Linked DNA regions of Homo sapiens: region 2 is linked to region 1. The links are contacts of gene promoters, found by promoter capture Hi-C in human tissues and cell types (Jung and others, 2019). All regions are on one chromosome and are shown on one strand. Each heading gives the region's core, a stretch centred on a gene start or on the middle of the fragment in contact. The rest is flanking DNA. Distances are from core to core; before and after follow the strand shown. Region 1 holds the start of SPATA2 (spermatogenesis associated 2). Region 2 has its middle 43 kb from the start of SNORD12.

The links. The method cuts DNA at HindIII sites, captures the fragments that hold promoters and counts their contacts. A contact is called where the count stands out against the background at its distance.
Region 2: a fragment that was not itself captured here is called in contact with the fragment with the promoter of SPATA2 in region 1 in 2 of the 25 tissues and cell types used here (H1 embryonic stem cells and lymphoblastoid cells).

The regions. Positions count from the first base shown.
Region 1 is chr20:49,912,781-49,917,698 of GRCh38, reverse strand. SPATA2 (spermatogenesis associated 2) reads left to right here and starts at 2,170. Exons shown (of 3, transcript NM_006038.4): 1 at 2,170-2,319. LOC105372653 (a long non-coding RNA gene) reads right to left here and starts at 1,877. Exons shown (of 3, transcript NR_134564.1): 1 at 1,614-1,877. RefSeq lists enhancers at 2,129-2,188, 2,983-3,152 and a silencer at 2,219-2,468. The HindIII fragment of the contact is 5,477 bases long and covers 1-4,064 here.
Region 2 is chr20:49,321,121-49,326,356 of GRCh38, reverse strand. No RefSeq gene overlaps it. Among named protein-coding and RNA genes, the nearest start is that of SNORD12, 43 kb to the right of the region's middle. RefSeq lists enhancers at 1,628-2,127, 2,128-2,629. The HindIII fragment of the contact is 6,734 bases long and covers 364-5,236 here.

The sequences.
Region 1 (4,918 bases), core at 921-3,420:
ATGGAGATTTAAATATTTCCTATTATTGCTTTTGCATTAGAAACAATGATGCAAGAGGTCTCTTTGGGCACAGTGTATGTTTCTCTAGCAGATTTTGAGAAATCCAATTGCTGGGTCATGGGGTAGCTTTTCTGTTTTGCTTTTTGTTCTATACTCCTCTGTATTGTTGGAATCATGTATTACTTTGGTGATGGAAAAAAAAACTAAAAAATAGAAAGAGGTAGGTAGATTGTTCGTGTTGTTGGCTCTTCGGAAGTAGAAGTGCCTAATCATTGTCACGTGACCCTTACATAATCTGGTAATCATTATATAATAAAGTCGGGAAAGGACGCTCCTGTCATTTCTACATCACCAAGTAGAGAAATCACAAGCCTTCAACTGTGTTTAAAAGATGAGAAACATGGCCGGACACAGTGGCTCAGGCCTGTAATCCCAGCACTTTGGGAGGCCGAGGTGGGCGGATCACGAGGTCAAGAGATGGAGACCATCCTGACCACCTTGGTGAAACCCCATCTCTACTAAAAATACAAAAAATTAGCCAGGCGTGTTGGCGCGTGCCGGTAGTCCCAGCTACTCCGGAGGCTGAGGCAGGAAAATGGCGTGAACCCAGGAGGCGGAGCTTGCAGTGAGCTGAGATTGTGCCACTGCACTCCAGCCTGGGTGACAGAGCGAGACTCCGTCTCAAAAAAAAAAAAAAAAAAAAAAAAAACTGAGAAATGTGACTGTCTTTGGAGACTTTGGGTCTTTTCTGATAGTAGATGATGACCAGGGTTTCCTACTGGTAAAGCCCTTCTTCAAAATCTTTGTTTCTCTTTTGCCTGTCATAGACCCACAGAGCTGGAGGGGACTTTTTTAAGCAGCCCCACGTGAAAATGCAATATTGTAAGAGCTACCAAACCAGAGTGCTGAGTTGCTGTAAGAGGCAGACTTAAGGTGGGACAGTTTGTCTCAGATGGAATTCCTGTGAACATCATCACATTGCAGATAATTAAGAGAGGAGCTTAAACATGAGCTGATAAAGAACACAGGGACTTTGAGCGGTGCTCAGGCAACGACAGGTAAACACAGTAATGCTACTGTTTGGACAGCAGCAGATTGCTGGTTCTCCAAACGTTTCCCAGTATTGTGTCACTGACTCATCACACAAGCCCCACCGGTTTTAGCTGGGGTCACCAAGACTCAGAGTGAGAATCCTACAATCAATGAACATCTGTTGTGTGCCTCCTCATCAGACATGTGCAGAGCTCGGGGGGAAATAGATGAATAAGAAGCTCAGGGTCTGGTGGGGATGTCAGATTATATATATATATAGTTTATCCGAAAGTGCTGGGATTACAGGCGTGAGCCGCCGTGCCCGGCTTTTTTTTTTTTTTTTTTTTTTTTTTTTTTTTAAGAGACGTGGCCTCGTTATGTTGCCCAGGTTGGTCTCGAACACCTGGGAGCAAGCCATCCTCTCGCCTCAGCCTCCCGACTAGCTGGGACTACAGTCGCGTGCCACCACGCCTGGCTTTATTATTTAATATTACAGGTTAGAAAGCTGAGGCTCAGAGAGGTTAGGTAACTTGTCCAAGGTCACACAGCTAGTAAGTGGCAAAACTAAAAATAGAACCCACGCTCTTAACCGCCGCCCACGGCCCGTAACACCCGCAGCCCTAGCAAGGCTGGATTCCAATCACGCGTGATTTCAGCATCTCACTGGCTCTCTTTGAGCCTCGGTACTTCTGTCCGTAAAATGGGGGCGAGGGATCCGACCGTCAGCCCCTGCTTGCTTGTGCGGAGTCATGAGTACAGCTCGTGGATCATGATAAGTGGCAGGTCCGGGAAGTGGAGGCCGAGTTCACGCAGTCAGCACTCATAGCTCCCAGCTCCCTGCTCCTGAGCGGTTTCCATGACAACCCGGCCAGCCACCATCCCTAGGCCGAGCGGCTTGCGTCACGTCCGGCCTGTTTACTTCCGGGTCCCAGTCTCAGACGCAGCGATGGCTCGTTAGGCTCCAAAGTGCGGTTCCGCCGGTTTCGTCCTCGCTCTTCGGCCTTCCGCTTTGTCCTCCGCCTCTGGGTTGTAGTCTCCGTCGGCCGCGGGCATCGACCGCTTCCCGGAGCCAGCGCGCAGCCGTGGTCCACCCTCTCTTCGGGCCCGCCTCATGGTGACATCATTTCCGGGCCGAGTGTTTCCGGGTCGCTGCTGGCCCCCGGGTACTGGTCTCAGTACCCCTGCAGCCGGCCGGAGAGGCTAGAGCCCGACGGGGCCCGGCTCCGGCGGCAGCCGCGCCTCTCGCTTGCTTCCCTCGGCCGGGCCGTCCTCGGCGGCAGTGTCAGGGTGAGTGACGGGCGGCCGCGGGCGGAAACTGCCTTCGGGGCTTCCCCAGGCGGAGGGGGCGCCAGACAGCGGCAGGGCTCGGCTGGCCCGGGAGCGGGGTACCCTCACGGCAGGCAGGACTACAGGTGGGCCCGCTGTTTCGGCGCTCCCGGGACCCCCAGCCTATCCTCAGGACCCCCATTCTCCCGGGAGCTGCCTCGCAGGCTCCTGGGACCCGCCGAGGGTGGCTCAGGGCCGCCCAAGAGGAACACCCCTCTTCGGCGACTGGCCAAACAGAAGGACACCCCGATTTCGCCACGAGGCAGTTACCGCGCAGGGGTTCCCAGTTCAGGCTCTGGCGGCACACCTGGGTTTGTACTCACTGTGTGACCTTGGATAAGTCACTTCATCTTAAGAGCCTCAGTTGCCTATTTAAGTGATTGAACCTGGTTGCTAGGGCTGGAGTGGAGATGGAATGAGATCATGCAGGGCCTCTGGCATACAGCAGGCGTCCAATAAGTGATAGTTCCTGTTACTTCATTCAATTCACGAAGCCGTAGGGGGGGCCAGAATTTGAGACTGGGCTGTTTTTCACAACTGACGTGGCCCCCCGAGGCTGTAGGAATGACCGAGCTGGGACTTAGCAGCCGCCAGCTTCTGTCCCCTGCAGGGAGGGAAACAGCTTCCTTCAGAGCTTCTCCGAGAGAGGCAGCTGCCACTAGGGAAGCTTCTTTCAGCACCGCTGAGGTTATTTTCAGAGGTTTGGAAGGACTCTGTGTGAATTTCTTTGGAATCTAGTAGGAGTGTGGGGACCTTCTGGTGTTTCACAGCCAGTGGAAGGTGCCTTGGATGTTTCTCGGAGCCTCTTGCTTGGAACGAGTGCATTGGTGTGGGTGGGGAGGTGGAGGGGGTTGAACTGACTTCCCCGTCTCCTGTTTGGAGGCTGATGGAGCTAGACCAGGGATGTGTAAACCTGTGGACAGGGGCAGTGCACAGACCAAAATAGGTCTGCCTGTGCAGAGAGGGGGCGCCTTCAAATGCTGCTTGGGGAACATTTCTGCTTGAATGGGCCAGCTGAGGTAAAGCCAAGCTAATGCTTAGCTACTCGGAATCACTTCACTTCCATGCAGTGGGACTCTAAACAGATACAGCTTTCCTCTTAGATGTTCAAAAAATAACTAAAGAAGCCACTGGCTCCCTGACTGTGCAATATCTCTTTTTCCATTGACTTGCTTTTCAAGAAGGTACCTAGATTGTGGGTGCAGGAGGTGCTGACTGGAGCCGTTGACTCTGGGCACCTGCCTGTCTCTGTGTTCAGGATATTCACAGTGCTGTTTTTTTGTTTTTTGGGTTTTTTTTTTTTTTTTTTTCCACCAGACTGGCACGGCTTGGCGTTCCAATCCTTGGGTTGCTTGGAGAAATTAGCAGCTTCTGTCGCTGGGCTGTCTCGGTCTCCTGTAACCACGATGTTTTTGCAGAGAGCGTATTTTGTTGTTCTTGCAGAGTGCTGGGAATGAATTGCTGGCTCTGTGCTCAGAAAAAACACCAGCTATGACCAGCTACAAGGCATCTTGTATTCTCAGAAAATGTTTTCAGCAGGGATGATGTCAGCTGCTTCATCACTGGCCGATGTCTCTGACCAGCCTCTTTCCTTGGCCCTTGAGCTTACATCATATAGAGATTAGCTCTCCTAGCCCCATTCGGTGTGGGAAGATGGGAATTTTGCTACTACAGGAATTTTTGTAACTCAACTCTGCTCGCGCCGCCATAAGGCATTCTAACTTAGCCAAACACTTTCGAGTAGAGCTGTCCAGCAGATGCAGCAGGATGGCTTTGCAAGAGTCGGAGTTTTGGCGTTAGACCTAGGTTCAGAGCTCAGATCCACTTCTTCCTAGCCTTACGACTTAGGGTAAGTGAGTTGGCCTCTCCGAGCCTCAGTTTCCTCTTTAACCTTGGATCTATCCTGTGGATTTCATTGGTTTTCACAGAGCAGTTAGCAGAGGGATGCCACACAGTAATCCCTTGGTAAATGGTACTGATGTAACAATAAATGAGTGAGGTAAATTGGAGAAAGCCCAGGCATCAAGGGCCTCCCAGCAAGAGTTCAGATTCCAGCTCTGACCCTTTCAAACTCTGTTGGGCAGGTTGTTTTAATGGGAAGAGCCTGTTTTCCTTATAGAGTTGTGAGGATTAAATGGGATGATGTAGGTAAAGTGGGAAGCCCAATGCTTAGCACATAGTAGAACCTCAGTAATTGTTAGTCTCTTTCTTTCCTTTCCTTATTGACTGATTGAGACAAGGTCTTGCTCTGTCACCCAGGCCGGAGTGCAGTGGTGCCATCATAGCTCACTGCAGCCTCAAACTCCTGGGCTCAGTGGATCCCCCCACCTCAGACTCCCAAGTAGCTAAGACTACAGGTGGGTGTCACCACACCCACCTAATTTTTTTTTTTTTTTTTTTTGTAGAGACGGAGTCTAACTATGTTGTCCAGGCTTGTCTTGCCCTTAATTATCTTTTAGCTTTTACTTTCTTCCGCCTTTTCCCTCACCTACCCAGGTTGGTTTGAGATTTGTTTTAGATAGGCTTCCTGTCCTTATTGTGAGTATTTTGAACATCAGCT
Region 2 (5,236 bases), core at 2,481-4,980, 590 kb after region 1:
GATCAGGACCAGAGCAAATCAGACAGGGAAAGGCAGTCTAGCAGAAACGGAATCTGGGCACTTCCCCAGCGAGAGACTTTCTACGGATGTGCCAGCAAGTTTTGTCAGCGGCACACACACACATTTGCTGCACATGCAAGGCGGCCACCACTGTCAGAATTAATTCACTCATACCCCAAATATTTACCAAGCATCTGCAGCGAGCCCAGAACTGTCTTGGGTGCTGGAGACACAGCGTTTAACAAGAAAGATGAGGTCTGTCTTCAGGAAAAGCCCTCCCAGCTATGAGACATGTCCTAATTCAGCAACGTGAAAATGTGAAGAGGGAAAAAATCATGTGCATCCTTGATGAAGGAATGGCGTTATTGTGCCAAAGACAAGCAGCAGTGCCTCTGGAAGGTCAGGAAGTCACATATTCTTTGCATAAATCTCAGAGGTTTAAAATTTTTTTCTTGGAGCAAACAATCCTTCAATCTGCCCATCTTAGCAGAGTTGAAAAGCTCAGAGGGAAGGAAGGAAAAAGAAAGAAAGGAAGGTAAACAAGAGAAGAAAGGAAACAGAAAGAGGGAGGGCAAGAAGGAGGAGGGAGGGGAGACACCCAGTGTGGCAACCTAAGACTGATCAAGTGCTTTCATCATCCATCTAATAACCCCGTTCATTGTGCTTTGGATGCTAAACCAAGCAAGTCCCATACATGACTTCATTTAATCCTCACAACAGTCTCCTGAAACTCTGTACTCCCTCTCCATACTCAACCCCCAGCAAGCCTGTGCATCTCCCAGCCTCTCCCTGGCTGCCAGTAGAGTTGAACCAGTGGGGAACACCAGCGGGGATGAGAGGAGCAGAGGGCAGGAGGAGAGTGCACCCAAGGTGTTTATTGTCCCCCATTTTGGGGAAGGGGGCCCTTGGCTGCAGATCCTACTCTCACAGGCTCCAATAACACCATTTCCTCCTGTCCTGTACTGCTGCCCCCACCTCTGTGAATAGAGCCCTTGTTTTCTATTATACCCTTCTGGGGGTACCATCTGTCACTTGCCAGGTCCCCAACTCCTAATGTGTTTGCACTATTGTCAAACCCAGCTCAGAGATGAGGCCACTGGGGCTTAAGAGGCAGAATCCCTAAGTTGAGCCAAGGATGTAGAGTCAGACAAACCTGGATTTGAACCACAGTCTCGGGTTTGTTGCAATGGCGAATGCAAAGCACTGGCCATACTGTAAATGCCCAGTTCAATGGTCTTTATGCATTCGTTCAACAACAATTTAGGACCTACTGTGTGCAGAGCACTGGGCTGGGTGCTGGGAACACAGATGACCAAAACAGGTACAGCCCTGCCCTCAAGGAGCTGACATTCAGTGGGGGAAACAGACAATAAACAATAACATGCAACCATGTAATTTCAACTAGTGATCTGTGCTTTGAGAAAAAACAGCAGGTCAAGAGTGGCCAGGGTTGAGAGAGAGGCAGGGAAAAAAAGAAAGAGTGCCAAGGGTGGTGTAACAAGAAACTATTTTAGGCAGGAGTCAAGGAAGTCCTCCAAGACAAGGACATCTGAACAGAGCCCCCAAGAAAGTGATGAAGGGAACTGTGTAGGAAGGGAACTGTATTCCAGGCACAAAACAGGCAGTGCAAAGTCGCTGAGGCAGGGTAAAGGTAGGATATCAGAGGGACAGTGAGGAGGCCAGTGTCGCTGCAGGAAAATAAGCCAGAGGAAAAGTGGTAGGAGGTGACATCAGAGAGGGAGGGGACAAAGATAGCATATAGGGCCTTGAGGACTGTTGTAAGGAGTTCAGATTTTATTCTAGGCATGACGAAAAGCCATTGCCGAGTTCTGAGCAGAGATGTGACGTGGTGATACCAAAGGTTTCAAAAGGATGACTGCCCATCTCTCTGGGTGGGGGTGAGGGCAGAAGCATGATGGCTCCTGCGGTTTCCCAGGAGAGAAAGGATTATCTACAGTAGAAGAAGCTGCTAGAAGAATGAGTTTTGTGTCACTGAAAGTGTTCACAATGTGGCTAAAAAACCTGGCAGGAAGACTGCAGACCAGATTCAGGCACTGGCTGGACAGCTGGACCAAGGGGTATCCCCAAAGTCCACCACGATCTCCTGCCCTGCCTGCCAGGCAGGTGAGAGATTTTGCGGAAAATTAGGCAGGCACCACCCTGCACGTGTTCTACCCGTCTCACTGGCAGCACGCACACAAGAGGGAACCATCATCACCCCTCGCATAGGCCCAGGATCACAAACTCAGTACATCTGTGGTTATTCTCGTAGTGTCTGCCTCCTCCATTAGAGTGTCAGCTCCACAACAATAGGGTCCTCATTTGTCATGTTCCCTGCTGTATCCCATCACCAAGCACAGGGCCTGGCACACAGCAACTCAGGAAGTGATGTGCCACTGAACAATGAGTGAGCAAATCTTGCCTTAGCAACAACAAAGGAAATATAACCACAGGCTGACATTGCAAAAAGGCAACACCAGATAGCAGTGTTTCTCAAAGCAAAGCCCAGCCCACTTTTCCTGACCAAAGAAGAAATTCTAGCTTCCCAGCCTTACAGAAAGGGGTAGGGCGGTGGTAAGGCTGCTCACTGAGTCCTGGATACCCAGATGACATCGTGCCAGCTGAGCCTGCCATGGCCAGACCACATTTCCCACAGACCCCTTAGAATCGCTTCACCCCACCCTTACAGGCCCAGGCTCATGAAGGAACACCTTTTTTTTTTTTTTTTTTTTTTTTTAAGATGGAGTCTCTCTCTGTCGCCCAGGCTGGAGTGCAGTGGCACCATCTCGGCTCCCTGCAACCTCCGCCTCCCAGGTTCAAACGATCCTCCTGCCTCAGCCTCCGGAGTAGCTGGGACTATAGGCACGTGCCACCACACCCAGCTAATTTTTGTATTTTTAGTAGAGACAGGGTTTCACTATGTTGGCCAGGCTGGTCTCAAACTCCTGACCTTGTGATCCACCCACCTCAGCCTCTCAAAATGCTGGCATGAGCCACGGGGCCCAGCCAAGGAATGTCTTTCTGCATTATCCAAACCCCGCTTTCTCCTCTGAACCACACTGCCCAGCCTCCTTACCATCTGCCCTCCTTATTGTCTACCAAAAGGATTTTCTAGAATACAGTTCTGGCCTGTTCCCTGAAATCCCTCAGTGGTTCCCATCTCCTATTGAGGGGGTTCACGAAGGATCTTTTTTGACAGTGGATCATAGATGGAGACCCCCAAGCTCAGTGGCTAAAAATCTACATTTTCCTGCAACTCATCCACAGTCATTTACCGTGCCCTCCTCCTATTCAACATCTCAGCACACTTTACCCAAAGTTTCCCAAAGCACGTGGTCTCCCACAGCTGAGTAGTACCCTCCCAGCCTCCTTTCCCCCATCTTCTGGGAATACCACCTCAGTTTTCTTCTGAGAAACCAAAACTCCCCACTCTCAATCCACATGGTTTGGACAGGGCTGATCGCACCCTCTCGTTCCTGGTATGAGGCAGGTGACCCCCACATGGCCAGTTGATATATTCCTTCTCCCTGGGTTCAGTGATTGATTGGGTCAGCAATGACCATTTAATCCAAACTGAGCCCATGAGAACCAGCCCTGGGATTTTGGCTGGAACTGGGGAAAAATGCTCTCAATCCATTAAGGATGGCAGTTTACAGCTACTGTCTTTGACCACTAGCTTTGCTACCACTTGGTGACAGCATGCCTGTAAATGAAGTTAACACAAGAAAAGCCGAAGAATGGAAAGAGATAGAGTCCTGATGACATCCTTGGAGCCCCTGGATCCAGTCATGCCTGAAGCTCTGGAATCCCTGGGTTGTTCTTTAGTTACCTAAGCCAATAAATATCCTTGTTAACTTAAGTTAAATTGTGTCACAACCCTAAGAGTACTAAGTCTACAGGAAACACATAAGTGTATATGTAGGGACATCAACCATACAGGGTTGAGATGATATTTAAGAAGTATAGAATACATGGAAACATTCTGTAAATAACTTGGAAAATACAGTGGTGTCTATCTTTCAAGGCCTTACTAATCACTCCAGCCCCACTCTCTCCCTGCCTCCACACCATCCTCACCAATCATTTCCAAGCTTCACCTTGCTCAGACTGAAATTATTTATTCCTTTCCCAACTACCTTGTCTCCCAAAAATAGACAATAAGCTTGAGGGGTACCAGAACTCCAGCCTTGCTTCCATCCCCCAGTGCTTCTAGCTGAATTGGGCACACAGAAGGTGGCCACCAATTGTAATTGAGGCTGGGTGTGGAGGCTCACACTGGTAATTCCAGCACTTTGGGAGGCCAAGGCTGGAGGATAGCTTGAGCCCAGGAGTTTGAGACCAGCCTGGAAAAGATGGTAAAACTCCATCTCTACAAAAAATACAAAAAAAAAAAAAAAAAAAAAAAAAAAAAGCTGGGTGTGGTGGCCCACACCTGTAGTCCCAGCTACTCAGGAGACTGAGGTAGGAGGATCACTTGAGCCTGGGAGGCAGAGGTTGCAGTGAGCCATGATTGCACCACTGCACTCCAGCCTGGGTGACACAGTGAAACCCTGAAAAATAAAAAGAAAGGAAGGAAGAAAGAGAGAGAGAAAAAGAAAAGAAAAGAGAGAAGGAAGGAAAGAAAGAAAAAGAAAAAAAAAGAAAATTTTAATTGAACTAAATGGGGAAGATGTCAAGGGGTCTCCTTACACCTGTAGACTCAAGCTTCCCTCTCCTAACATTCTTGAGTCTCTGCCACCCTTGAGCTGCTATACAATATTGAGATCTGGAGTCAGACTGCTGGAGTGCAAATCCCAGATCTGCTGTTTAAGAGCTGTGCAACCCAGAACACGTCACTTAACCTCTCTGTGCCTTAGTTCCTCATCTGTAAAACAGACATGATAACACTGTTCCATAGCGTTATTATGAGGCTTAAATGAGACAATTTACTTCAAGCACTTAAAATAGTACCTTCCTGACATTTGGTATTTCATAAATATTAGATTTGTTGTTTGCGGATTTTGTTTGTTTTTTAAGTCATCTTCAACATCTCCCTCTATTACAATTGATCACTTAAGGCAGTTGACTTTATCTCCTAAAAATAGCCCATGAAAAAAGCAAATACTTCTCTACATCTTTTGCCTCCTAACTAGTCCCCTCCTGCCTGCTCCCCTGGGAGGTGGAAAGTGAACTTTTCCCTGCGTCTCTTCACAAGACCCTGCTCCAGATAAGGAGGCAGATCCCAAAAGAGCAAAAC